Regions from separate parts of the Homo sapiens genome. Here regions 1 and 3 are each linked to region 2. Evidence: promoter capture Hi-C in 16 types of primary human blood cells and fetal thymus (Javierre and others, 2016). All regions are on one chromosome and are shown on one strand. Each heading gives the region's core, a stretch centred on a gene start or on the middle of the fragment in contact. The rest is flanking DNA. Distances are from core to core; before and after follow the strand shown.

Region 1 (4,184 bases), core at 473-2,972, 1.0 Mb before region 2:
CAGTAGAAAACTGTCTGAGGAATGTAATTCCCTGAGTGATGTGTTAGATGCATTTTCAAAAGCGCCCACATTTCCTAGTAGCAACTATTTCACAGCAATGTGGACAATTGCCAAAAGACTGTCTGATGACCAGAAGCGCTTTGAAAAACGACTGATGTTTAGCCACCCTGCATTTAATCAGCTCTGTGAACATATGATGAGAGAAGCCAAGATCATGCAGTATAAGTACCTACTGTTCAGTCTTCACGCCATAGTGAAGCTTGGAATCCCTCAGAACACTATTTTGGTGCAGACTTTGCTGAGGGTGACCCAGGTAAAATAAAAAGGAGATTTAAACATGCATTTACTTGATTTAGAATATTTTGAAAGAATGAAGGGATATAGATATGTAGCCTTCTTAAAAGAGACTATCAAATGGAATGGTAGTTTCCTTTATATTTATTTCTGCATATATATTATATGATTTAGAGGCCTTAAGTTAGCTATTTTCTTCCTTTTGCTATGGAAATTTATGAAAGCCTTCCACATTTACCATCCCCAGGGTTGAGTAGTGGTGAAGAAGCTAAAGTGAGGAGAGATGCAAGATATACAAAGAAAGCCTGGGTAGTTGAAGAAGGAGAGAAGGGAAGGGGAAGGAAGAGAATTTAGTCCATGGTAGAATTGGAATTCAGGCCCAGTAGATGATACCTAAACTGATGAGCAGAATGATAGTGAAGGGGATGGTGTTTCAAGTAGAGAGGATTGCATGCCCTACTGTTCCCAGAGGAAAAGTTTGGCAAATTTGAAGAGCTGAAAGTAGTTTGGTGTAGCTGAAGCACAGAATGATGGAGTTGTATGTTTGAGTGGGTGGGAACAAGTTTTGTACATGGCGATCAAAGGAGAGGAGTGAGGGGCAAGAGGCTTAGGGGCAGAACAAGAGGCCAGAAAAATAGGAACCAAATCATAAAGAGCCTCTTACGGCTAGCTAAGGAGTATGCATTTATCCTGTAGGCAATGGGAATCCGTTGAAGAATTTTAAGCAATGGGTTGACGTGCTCAAATTTGTATTTTAGATCACTGAATGAGTGGAAGATGTATTGGAAGAAGGTTAAAATTGGATGGAGGGAGCCATTTTTAGTCTAAAGCAAGAATGTCAGTGTCCTGTTTAATGTCACTGAAATGGTGCCAAATGTAAGGAAGGAAGGATTAGCTTGTTAATCATTTATGTTTTAAGAGTGTACACTTCTGACGTATAAACTCAGTGATAATGAAGTAATTTCTTAGCCAGGTGTGGTGGCTCACACCTGTAATCCCAGCACTTTGGGAGGCCAAGGCAGGAGGATCTCTTGAGCCCAGGAGTTTGCGACCAGCCTGGGCAACAAAGGGAGACTCCATCTCTACAAAAAATACAAAAATTAGCTGGGTGTGATGTACTTGCCTGTGGTCCCAGCTACTTGGGAGGCTGAGGTGGGAATATCACTTGAGCCTGGGAGGTCGAAGCTGCCGTGAGCCATGATCGTGCCACTGCACTCCAGCCTGGGTGACAGAGCCAGACCCTGTCTGAAAATAATAATAATAATTTTTTAAAAGACAGGAATTCCTTGGGGATAATCTGGCATATATCCTGTCTTGCTATAGAATTCAATAATTGGGTTCATAGCTATGGGAAAGTTTTTAACTTTTTACATTACTGTGATTTCCATATGTCCTTAAGGAATAACTAATTTTTATTTAGTGTATGTGTGTGTATTTGTTTAAACCACAGAATATCCCTGTTTATTTGTAGGCTGTGTATTAGTTCCTATGTAGTTATTTAAAAGTGACTAATAAATCACCTTACCTGGTCAGTGATGCTCTTACTAGATTTTGGACAGATATTTGCATCGGGATGACATCTGTGTTGGTGAGGTATGAGTAGTAGATTTTTGTAGTCAAAACATCTGTATGGATGATGGTGTCTCACTGACCTGTTGGAATAATGTAAAGACATTTTAGAGGTGAAAGGACAGTGTGCCATCAATGAATTTGCCCTTCAAACACATAGACAAGTGGTCTTTTCTTTCATAGTAGATATGGATGGAATGCTGTAAAATTGTTAAGGAAACCCTTTCATAGGAAAGAAACCTTTTTTTTCTTCTAACCATAACCATTTCTTATTATTACCTGGTTCTGACTTAAGACTTTGTGATTCATTGGTTATGTAATTTTAGCAAAAGAGCTTCTCTCTCTTCAGGCTAAGTTTCCTCAGATGTGATTTTTTGTGAGGTTTATAGACTAGTGATTAAACTGTAGAGTACTGCTAGTTAAGCTGTGTTGTTACTATTCACTTTCCAGATTATGCCCACTATTTCTGGAATCAAACTTAGTACCCTAAGTAAAGGGACCTGAAAGAAGAATCTGTGGGGTGTAGGCTTCCCTTGAGACCCAGATAGCAGTGGTAGAATGTGGCAGGAGATGTGAATCAGAAGACTCACAAGTAAAGTTTCAGCTTGATACCCAGGAAAGGATCTAGGGAAATTGTAAAGGCACAACCATTTAAGGATCTTTAGAGATGGGCTAGTTACCTTCTGTACTTCAGTAGTTCTTATATTCCTGCACTTTAACTGTTTTTGCCTTTGTAATGACCTTGAATTCCAAGAAGAGGTAAAAATAATGTTTAATAAAAGTTGTTTCAGAAGCAGTGGAATATAATAAATATCAAATGTGTTTTCAGTGATAATGGTGAAGGTAAAAAAGTGTTGATGCATAAAAGGATGTGTATCAGTCAGCTGGAAAATTCAGTAAGTATGACTTTTTATTTCCCAAAGATGCTGTTTATTGTGGACTGACTGTAGGAATTGTTGGTTTGATACTCAATCGTTTTATTCAGTACATCAGTTCAGTGGTTTTGCTTGGGTAAGATAGTTTACTATGGGCTCATCACCTGTAGTGTTTTTGTAATTATATTTCAATAGGAACGTATCAATGAGTGTGATGAGATATGCCTTTCAGTTTTGTCAACTGTTTTAGAGGCAATGGAACCATGCAAGAATGTTCATGTTCTACGAACGGGATTCAGGTGAGAACTCTCTTATGCTTTCTTCATGTGGTTTTCTTTGTTCCTCATATATCTGGAATAAAAAAATTGAGATGAAAACTAAACTCCTTTCTTGAGGGGAGGAGGGGTTGGGGAGGCTTTGTTGGTAGTTACAGTCTTTCATACCTTATTAAGCTTAAAATCCTGACTCTGGATGACATAGGCTGGAAATACTTCTCTTAGGGTCCATAATAACAAAGATGTGAGTAACATTGAAATCTAAATTAATTTATTTTAAAACATAGTACTGGCCAGGCGCAGTGACTCATGCCTGTAATCCCAGCACTTTGGGAGGCCGAGGCAGGCGGATCACGAGGTCGGGAGATCGAGACCATGGTGAAAGCCCGTCTCTACTAAAAATACAAAAATTAGCCGGGTGTGGTGGTGGGTGCCTGTAGTCCCAGCTGCTTGGGAGGCTGAGGCAGGAGAATGGCGTGAACCCAGGAGGCAGAGCTTGCAGTGAGCTGAGATCGCGCCACTGCACTCCAGCCTGGGCAACAGAGCGAGACTCTGTCTCAAAAAAAAAAAAAAAAAATAGTACTGATGCGGGGTAGGAGAGAATTGATATGTATATTTAATTCAGAATAGTTATTCGGGGACTATGTGAGGGTTGACGTTGACCCAGCTTGAAAAGGGATTTATAAAATTGATATAAATGATCTAATGTCATAGATTAGTGAGAGTAAAACTTAACTCCCTTTGACATTGACTATGCATAGGATATGTTACTATAATCTCCTGACATAATTTGTTCTTTAGTAAAGACAGCACAATAATGTGAGAGAAAATAGCACTATTAATAGATTGGGTCTCGATCTTTAACTACTTACACTCTCTCAAGCAGGTAGATCATTTCTCTGGGCTTCATAATCCTTGCCTGTAAGAAGGGGCTGGACCAAATGAAATTTTAAGATTTTTCTTCTGCTTTGAAGATTCTATGATTTTAATATTTATTGTGTTTGATAACAGAATACTAGTTGATCAGCAAGTTTGGAAAATAGAAGATGTCTTCACATTACAAGTTGTGATGAAGTGTATTGGAAAAGATGCACCGATTGCTCTTAAGAGGAAACTGGAGGTAAACACATGAATTTTCTCTAGTGGATGAGATTTGAAAAAATCTTTCTTA
Region 2 (4,704 bases), core at 1-2,500:
GGACGCGGCGGCCGCCCGGCCCACCAGCTGCGCTAGGAGCAGCAGCAACAGCGAGGGCGGCGCGGATGGGTCAGGCCGAGCCATCGCCCCCTCCCTCCCCTCGCCTCCAGCAGCCCGCGAGGGACGCACACAGGCAGAGGAATCCGGGCCGGGGCTTCTCCCTCCGGCGTCTCGTGTGTGGCGCCGGGGCTGGCAACCTGTTGGTTGCTTTTTCCTTTAAAGAAAACCGTCCAAAGATAAACTGCTTCGGGAAGGCGCTGCCTCCGCTGGCAGCGCTCCGCTCCTCGCCGGATAGGGCTGGGGAGAGACGGTTAGGGCTCGGATTCCAGGGAAAGGACTCTTTAAAAAAGAAGGGGGAGAAGAAAGATTGCAACCACTCCCTGTTGGAGAGGCGTCAACAGTTCGGTCCCCGCGAGCTGTCTCCAAATCTCTTAAGTTAACCCCTTTCCTTTCCTCCCCGCTCCGCCTCCTGTAACCAAACTACCGACTCCCCCACCCTCTCTTTCCAAGCTGGGCCCTTCAGGCAGTGCCCGGAGACCAGAACCCTCAGCTTCCCGGAAAAGGGCACAGGAAACGGGAGAAGAACAGGGAGAAAGGGAAGGTTCTCACCTCCACGGATCCCGCCGAGAAGAGCAGACAGTCCCCAGCCAGCCTGGGTCCTCCGTCCCTGGGTCACTCCGCTGAGAAGCGCGACTCAGAGCCGGGCTGGCGCCCGGAAAGTTTAGCGACAGGCTGGGTACCCGTGGCAGCGGCACATGGCAGCAGGTGGGGGCGACTCAGAGTGGGGGGCGCCCCCAGAACAGGGGCGGCGCAGGCCGGTCACTCGCCCTCTCCTCCTCGGGAGCCCCCCGCATGATCCAGACGGAGCCGGGCAGGGGCAGGCCGTGCGTTCTCCCCGGGGCCGGGAGCCGGACGGAGGGCGAGCGCGCCTGGCAGCACCTGGGCGGGAGGAAGGCGGGAGGCGGGGGCCGTGGGACCCCGCCGCCTCACAGCACCGCGAGCAGCCGGCGCTGGCCAGGCCGGGACTGCATGGTGAGCGCCGGCCGCCGCGTCCCGCCCGCCGCTCGCCTCCTCCCCTGCAGGGGGCTCCGCGCTCCAGTGGACTCCTGGGGGCGGTGGCGACGCTCTCGGGACGTGCCCTGCTCGGCTCCTCCCCCGCGCTCTCGCACCCTTTCGCCCACCTCTGGCGAGCACGGAACCGCGCGCGGCGGCGACCACAGCGGACTCACGGCCGCAGGCTGGCTGCCCTCTCCCGCCCCGCCCGGGTCACCTGCTTCTAATGCCCGCCGGGAAGCCCCGCCCCGGCTCCGCCCCCTCAGGCCCGGGCGCGGTTGGTGGGCCGCCTCGCCAAGCTCTCCGCGCGTCCCCGCCCACTGCCCCGCGGGCTCGGCCTTTCCCCCGGCGCCCTCTGGCCCCGCCAGGAGCGGGCAGCCAAGGAGCGCTGACCAATCGCGGGCCTGGAGGAGATGGGGGCGGGGCGAATGCTAATCATGCCGCTCTGGGCACCCGGGCGGGAAGCCCTTGCCAGAAGTCCCTCCGGAGTTCTCTGCCCGCGCCCTGGGTGCAGGACTCGCTCCTGTAACTTCCTGGCTTATGCACCTTTGCTCCCAGGGCCCCTGCCCTTTCTGCCTGCAGCTAAGCGTCCTTACAGAGTTCAGTGCTTCTTTGAAAGAACTGCTCAAGGAATCACTCTTAGGCGTGGCTGTCTCCCTTCCGAGCTGTCTTGGAACTGTGTGAAAGAAGAGAGGATACTTACTGAGCCCTTTACTGTGTGCCCAACAAAGTGTTAATCGGTTACATCCTTTTTTTTTTTTTTTTTTTTTGAGACGAGTTGTTCTGTCTCCCAGGCTGGAGTGCAGTGGCGCGATCTCGGCTCACTGCAACCTCTGTCTCCCGGGTTCAAGCGATTATCCTGCCTCAGCCTCCTGCGTAGCTGGGATTACTGGCGCCCGCCACCACGCCCAGCTAATTTTTGTATTTTTGGTAGAGACGGGCTTTCACCATGTAAGGCTGTTCTCGAACTCCTGACACCGTGATCTGCCCGCCTCGGCCTCCCAAAATGCTGGGATTACAGGTGTGAGCCACCGCGCCCGGCCCGTTTACATCTTAAGACAAGATCTCACTCCTTACAACAATTCTGAGGCAGGTACTTCCTACAGGTGAAGAAACCGAGACTGAGACTTGGCCAAGGCAACCGAGCTAATCATAGTTCCCCCAAGAAAGGGCGACCTCGGCAAGCAAGTTCACCTCCGTATTCCGATCACCTGGCACATAGTAGCCGCCCAAATGGCAACCCTGGGATTCGAACCCAGGTAGTTGGTCAGCGGCACTCACCATCGTAGCCGCCCCTCCCCCCATACTATCGCAGCCTCCCTGGCTTCGACCTTTACTTTTGCATCTCTTAACAAAATCTTGTTGTGACAAGAAAATGGATTTCTTTCTGCCTTTAGAAGACCCAGAAAGATGTGAGTCCTTTATTGGTCGAGGTTTATAATCCCAGGCAGTTCCGAAGTCGCCCGCAGAGAGAAGCGATACCGACCCAGGGTTCTGTGCTGGGCAGGGCGCCGGCCTCCCCGTGCCCTTCCGTCCCCGGCTGCCTGCTGCTAAGCCGCGCACTTGCGCGCCGCGGGGGGTCGGAGGGCGCACCGATGGCGGGGACACGGCGGCGCTCTTCAGTTGCGCAATTATGCTACAAGTTTTAAATGTCCTAAAAATGCCTCTTTTCTATGTGTTGTAATTAGATTGGAAGACTGAGGTATTTAGCATACTTGAAATACATTCACACGCCTAGGAAGAGGGTTTAAATTTTTTCCTTCTCCCCAAACTTTTCCTTCCACTGGGCAAAGGGCGAAAATAGGCAAGAGGGCCTGGGGACACTTGAAGGGATAGGGACTGGACTAACTGGACTAGATCCAGATCAACCGCGGGTTACTGTCCATCTCCTGTGCTGGATCCCATTGGCACAGGTTGGAAGAATAAATTGCGGAAGTGCCACTCCCCTCCTGCGTATCAACAACGCTTTGTGGGCAATAATGAAGAACACGTGTGTTAATCCCAGCCTCCAAGTTAAAAAGGAACAAATATCAATCACTTCGCGGATATCAAAACTATTAATAAACGTTTAAAAGGCCGGGCGCCATAGCTCACGCCTGTAATCCTAACACTTTGGGAGGCTGAGGTGGGAGGATGGCTTGAACCCAGGAGTTTGCAGACCAGCCTGAGCAACATAGCAAGACCCCCAACTCTAAAATACATAATTAAATAAATGAATAAATATACCTTACATCTTTCTTTCTCTGGAATTCTACAGGTGTTCATATTTTATCTCTTGTGTTTTGGAATTACTTGCCACTCTGGGTCAGGAAGCATCCCAGGGTTGAAAATAGTGGGAGTTGAAAAGCTGTGGGCATAGCAGTGAGCAAGAAAGGGAAGCCCTCAGTGGAAAGTATGTGCAGACTATGAACATGCCAAGGGAGGCCCATCTCATTCTGTGCTCTTTATGCAACGTGTGTATTACTGGGGATGGACAAGTGTTGGCTAATAATAAAAATTATTTGAAGTTGGAGAATGTTAATCACTCACACTGGAATTTAGCCAGAATATTTGTGTTATTTCACACGGTTCTGTCAGAGGCATTTGAACCAGAGCGACTCCATCTTGGATAGGGACTGGGTAAAATAAGGCTGAGACCTACTGGGCTGCATTCCCAGGAGGTGAAGACATTCTAAGTCAACAGGGTGAGATAGGAGGTCAGCACAAGATACAGGCCATAAAGACCTTGCTGATAAAACAGGGCGCAGTAAAGAAGCCGGCAAAAACCCAGCAAAACCAAGATGGCCAGGAGAGTGACCTCTGGTCGTCCTCACTGCTTATTGTAACTTAATTATAATACATTAGCATGCTAAAAGACACTCCCACCAATGCCAAAGCAGTTTACATTTTACAGATGCCATGGCAACCGTCAGGAAGTTACCCTGTATGGTCTAAGAGGGGGAGGAACCCTCAGTTCCGGGAATTGCCCGCCCCTTTCCCGGAAACTCATGAATAATCCACCCTTTGTTTAGCATATGATCAAGAAATAACCATAAAAATGGGCAACCGGCGGCCCATGCCGCTGCTCTGTCTATGGAGTAGCCATTCTTTATTCCTTTCCTTCTTTTTTTTTTTTTTTTTTTTTTTTTTTGACAGTCTTGCTCTGACGCCCAGGCTGGAGTGCAGTGGGGGTGCAAGCTCGTCTCACTGCAACCTCTGCCTCCTAGGTTCAAGCAATTCTTGTGCCTCAGCCTCCCAGGAAGCTGGGATTACAGGCCTACGCCACAACACCCTGCTATTTTTTGCATTTTTAGTAGAGTCGGGGTTTCGCCATGTTCACCAGGCTGGTCTGGAACTCCTGGCCTCAAGTGATCCGCCCGCCTCGGTCGGACTCTCAAGGTGCTGGATTACAAGCATGAACCACCTCGCTCGGCCCTTTCTTACCAAACTTGCTTTCACTTTACTCTATGGATTCGCCCGGAATTCTTTCTTGCATGAGATCCAAAAACCCTCTCTTGGGGTCTGAATCAGGACCCTTTTCCAGTAAAGGTTCTGAAGAAAACAATGTTATCTACTGGTTTGTAAACCTTTTCTTCATCAACAGCAAAATCTTAATTTTACTTGGAGATCTCTAATAATAATAGTGATAGCAGAGAACTTTATGGAAAGAAA
Region 3 (4,761 bases), core at 1,068-3,567, 1.6 Mb before region 2:
ATAGCCAAGATTTTACCAGCCTAAGTTTGTAGTGGTAATTGCGGCAAGCATTCCTAACAGAGGCTGCTACATGTGCAGGTGAAACCAGAGAAAGCTCAACCTATTCATAAACTCCTGGATAACTCTGAGACCCAAAGGGCCCAGTGCAAAGTAATAGCTGGGCAAACTTGAAAACAGCCTCAACTTTGAATATGCTCCTCCATCCACAAACAGATCCATTGGCAAAGAACATAACTCTTATTAGGTCACGGTGTTTGAAGTACAATTATACCTGACTACTAAACTATGCAGACACAGGGGAACTCCTAAGAAGCCTCACTTAAAAATAAAACCAAGAATATTAAAATATGTTGAAAGAACCAAAGAAAATCATATTTAAAAATTGAAGGGGATGTATGACAACCACGAATCAGCAAGTAGAGATTCTCAGTAAGGACACAGAAATTACACAGAAACAAAAAGCCAAATCCCAAGTTGAAAAGTATAAAGTTTAAAATTGGATGATAATTTGTTATGTTTTAAGAACCTTAAAAATAATCACACCTCTTGCATCTATCTACTCCATTTCTTGGTTTAATCAGGAGAATGAGAGATATACACAGAAATGTGTAAACAGCAATATTTTTTACAGATTTGTAATCATAAAGAAATATACAAGCTAAATGTCTATTAGCAGAAACTGGCTAAATGACATTCCTCATAGTTGAAAACTTAATAAACAACAACATGGGAGACTATACATTTAAAATGTCAACACTATTAAACTCTTTGGAAGAACACATGAAAAAAATAATTTTGTGGTTGAGTACTTTAGAATTAATTTCCAAGAAAACTACAGTTAATTTGCACAGGTTCAATCCATTCTAACTACTTACCTTCTATTTAAAGGGTTTTACATAAACAAACAAAGTCAACAGACCAAAACAACTGAAACCCAGGAAGAAAATGAACCTTAATATTTTTTTGAATAGTAATGAATTAAGGACAAAAAAACAAATTGTCATAAAATAAAAGATACCTTGTTTCCCAAGGCCGGGCAGTAAAGGCATAGGGCTTAGAGGTTAGGGCACCTACAGGGCAGATATCAATGATATTCCCAGACAGTTCAGACATGAACATCTTTTCAATGTATGTGCCAACTTGCATATCATTTCCTCTGCCTGTTGTTCCCAAATCATCTACTCCTGCAATCTCACTTGCAAACCTACAAGATAAAAAATGTGTCATCAATGGTCAAGTCCAGCAAAATTATTTCCTTTCTTATTCATGATCACAAAGAGATGATTTTCCAAACACTAAAAAGAAATGAGTATATTTTTAAAGGTGAGCACAGTCCTAGAATAAAAAATAATGAAATGTTTGCATTTAATTGAGGTGTAACACACAGGCAGAAACTTGTACAAATCATATGTGTACAACTCACCAAGTTATGAGTGAAAGCAAATGCTTATAGATTTTAATTTTTAAATCCACCTGAAGTTGGTACTAAATGAAAGTGAACTTATTTTATTCATATATCAGAAACAGCATCCCTCTTCTCCCACCCAAAAAAAGTAGCCATTCTTTCCAATGTTATTATTCATCAAATTGTGACTATTAAGTATACAATTATATTCTATAATAGAAAAAAAAGGAAAAAAAGTTACCTGATGCAGCGAGTACACTGTATACATCTTGTCATGATGGTCTTTACCAATGGCCCAATGTTCTTGTCTTCCACAGCACGCTTCCCCTCTAAAAATCGGCTCCTATCATTTCCAAACATCATGGACTGGTCCTTAAGTAGATTATGAAAGAGTCAATCTCATGCTGCTAATAAAATTAAAATCTGAGACAACCAAAAAGATTGACAGAATTCTACTACATACCTGCAGATCACATTCACCTCCCTGGTCACAAATAGGACAGTCCAATGGGTGATTTGCTAATAAGAACTCCATCACACCTTCCCTGTATGAAAATTGTAACATATAAAATGACTCTCAAATACACACACACTGACATTAACTGCTGGCACTCAAAATGACCTATAGACTTTATTTTTTTTTTTTGAGATGGTGTCTCGCTCTGTTGCTCAGGCTGCAGTGCAGTGGCACAATCTTGGCTCACTGCAGCCTCCTGCCTCCACCTCTCAGGTTCAAGCGATTCTCTTGCCTCAGCCTCCCGAGTATCTAGGATTACAGATGCCCACCACCACACCTGGCTAATTTTTGTATTTTTAGTAGAGGCAGGGTTTCATCATGTTGGTCAGGCTGGTCTCGAACTCCTGACCTCAAGTGATCCTCCCGCCCTGGCGTCCCAAAGTGCTAGAATTACAGGCGTGAGCCACTGTGCCAGGCCCACATATAGGCCATTTAAACAACCTTCATAGATGTATATTTGTTATACAATTAATAGTAATTTTACATTTAATATCAGAAATGCCAATTATCTATCATTGTGGTAATATTTTTTTTAAGAGACGGGGTCTTGCTATGTTGCCCAGGCTGGACTCGAGCTCCTGGGCTCAAGTGATCCTCCCGAGTATCATTCTGGTAGTATTAAACACACAATCTGGAAAATGCTTAGAGGAGCCTAGAATAAAGTATCATTAGAGAACATAGAAAATTATGATTTTTGGTCAGGTTTGGTGGCTCACGTCTGTAATCCCAGAACTATGGGAGGGAGGCTGAGGCAGGATGATCACCTGAGGCCAGGAGTTCAAGCCCAGCCTGGACAACATAGTGAGACCTCGTTTCAAAAAATAAAGAAAATTGTAACTTTTAACAATACCGAATGATCAAAAGTTGCTGAATGGTCCTCAGAAAATATTCACATTAATTCAAAATAAAAACAAACACAATCAATCCCAGTATAGTATAGTAGTAGCTTAGTAAGTCCAGATTCACCCTTCTTCACAAGTTGAGCAAGTTACTAAAGAAGGATTTTTAATGCTGATCCTAAAGCTCAATACCATAAACTCCTGACTTCACCTTCTCTACTATGTAGTACTCACTTCTATTGCTCCTAGAAGCTGAGCACACCAACTTCTTCCGAGTTTGATATTAAATTCTTAATCTATGGGAAGGTCTAAATACCAAAATGTGCAATTTTCTGCTTTATGAAAGGGTACTACATTGAATAACAATAAAGTACCTGGCTTTTTTGGATTTTTCTGAGTTTGTTAGGATATTCCAACCCTTCATTACTGGCATGGCACAAGCAGCTACAACCTGGGATTTCAATGAAAAAAAAAAATGTGTATTTGTATTTATTTGTGATTACAAGCAACTCAATATATAAAAATGTTAAATTATATAAAAACATTAAATTATACATTTGATAACAGGCAAAGAATAGGGTATTTTTTAAAACTGAATTTTGTTAAGTTTTCATATTCATAATACGATGATCTAGTACTTTGCATTTATCTCAGAAATAAAACATCCTGGTTTTTAGGTTTATTCTAATAGTCAATGCAATTTTTTATTCTGCTCTGAAACAGAACACCAAATAACTGCTTTGATTAGCAGGCACTATTGAATAAAAAAATTGCATACACCAAAATGAAATTAAACTACTGAAAGTGAACTTCTTCCCTGCAACCCTTTTCTCTACTAAAAATGGCAGGGCGTCAGCACTTTTAATGTGCTACTTGGCAACTCTACATCCTGGTTATATATTATACAGCCATTTGGAAATACTGACAACTATAAATCACCTTTAATTTCTAGATATGTTACAATTATATGACATGTGTTTGTAAAGCACTTCTATCTATGTGTTTCCAGTTTTGAAATGAAGAGAATCAATTGTACAAAAGAATTAAATTTATAGATAGAAGTAAAGAGGGCTAGGTTCTCCACTACGATATTGATTCTAAATAAAGTTTGCTGCAAGATTTAAAGTTTTCTACCTTCTACAGCATGGTGTAGAATTTTAGGTATCAAGTACCTTAGGGGCTTTCTCAATTTCAACAAGGCACATCCTGCAGTTTCCAGCAACAGACAACCTTTCATGATAACAGAATCGAGGGATCTGCATGCCAACCTTCTCACAAGCCTAGAAGTAAAAAAAAAAAAAAAAAAAAAAAAAGCATTAGAATAACCTGACTTCACTGCTGTTATTGCTGAAACACACACATACAGCATCTTATTACTTCTATCTATCTATCTATCTATCTATCTATCTTAATTCATTCTTATTTCAGTCCCTTTCTTTGCCTTTGATTCTAACCCGTCTCCTCTGAAGCTGCCTCAGAGGATCTCAGGATCCTTGGCGTGACTTCACCTTATGTGGAAGAAACTGGATAAAGTATCCTTCCACTGTGCTGAAGACTTGACTTCCCACATCCATTTTGAACCATTGTCCACAATGTCCCCAGTGGTTTCATACCTGGACTTCTTCTTTGCCTCGCTCCCCTCCTTTGGATTAGAGATTTCACTACACATTATCTAGCTGGCTATCTGTCTTTGGCTCCTATATGCTACCCAGGACTCACCTCCCACTGTGGCTGAAGGTTTTCCCAGTTTCTGTTTGCCCAGTAAGGGGGATTATCCCTGCTCTGCCAATTATCACCTACCCTGCTCTGCAATTTCTTCCTCCTTTTAGTCTATAAACATGTTCAAATTTCCTCTAGAGTTAGTTCCTCATCCTCAGCCTTCATTCTAAAGCAATCTCATCAATTTCCAGTGTTTAAACTATTTAGTTAGCAAAAATGTGTTGAGTCTTTCCTTTGTGCAGGATGCAGGTATAGTAGTGAAAAAGACAGATAGTGTCCCA

Evidence for each region. The method cuts DNA at HindIII sites, captures the fragments that hold promoters and counts their contacts. A CHiCAGO score of 5 or more calls a contact.
Region 1: a fragment that was not itself captured here is called in contact with the fragment with the promoter of FZD5 in region 2 in 1 of 17 cell types (naive B cells); the score reaches 5.9 in naive B cells.
Region 3: a contact is called between a fragment that was not itself captured here and the fragment with the promoter of FZD5 in region 2, in 1 of 17 cell types (neutrophils). The highest score is 6.5, in neutrophils.

Annotation. Positions count from the first base shown.
Region 1 is chr2:206,767,158-206,771,341 of GRCh38, forward strand. FASTKD2 (FAST kinase domains 2) reads left to right here. Exons shown (of 12, transcript NM_001136193.2): 2 at 1-313; 3 at 2,934-3,037; 4 at 4,025-4,133. Among named protein-coding and RNA genes, the nearest start is that of FASTKD2, 3.6 kb to the left of the region's middle. RefSeq lists an enhancer at 2,542-3,741. The HindIII fragment of the contact is 2,931 bases long and covers 258-3,188 here.
Region 2 is chr2:207,768,656-207,773,359 of GRCh38, forward strand. It overlaps FZD5 (frizzled class receptor 5), which reads right to left and starts at 1,251. Exons shown (of 2, transcript NM_003468.4): 1 at 610-1,251; 2 at 1-339. The coding sequence starts at 84. RefSeq lists silencers at 2-61, 472-531, 872-1,551, 3,608-4,083 and enhancers at 2,102-2,151, 2,316-3,136. The HindIII fragment of the contact is 9,976 bases long and covers 1-4,704 here.
Region 3 is chr2:206,145,885-206,150,645 of GRCh38, forward strand. NDUFS1 (NADH:ubiquinone oxidoreductase core subunit S1) reads right to left here. Exons shown (of 19, transcript NM_005006.7): 4 at 3,934-4,041; 5 at 3,136-3,212; 6 at 1,869-1,950; 7 at 1,647-1,777; 8 at 1,019-1,204. Among named protein-coding and RNA genes, the nearest start is that of NDUFS1, 11 kb to the right of the region's middle. The HindIII fragment of the contact is 5,047 bases long and covers 1-4,761 here.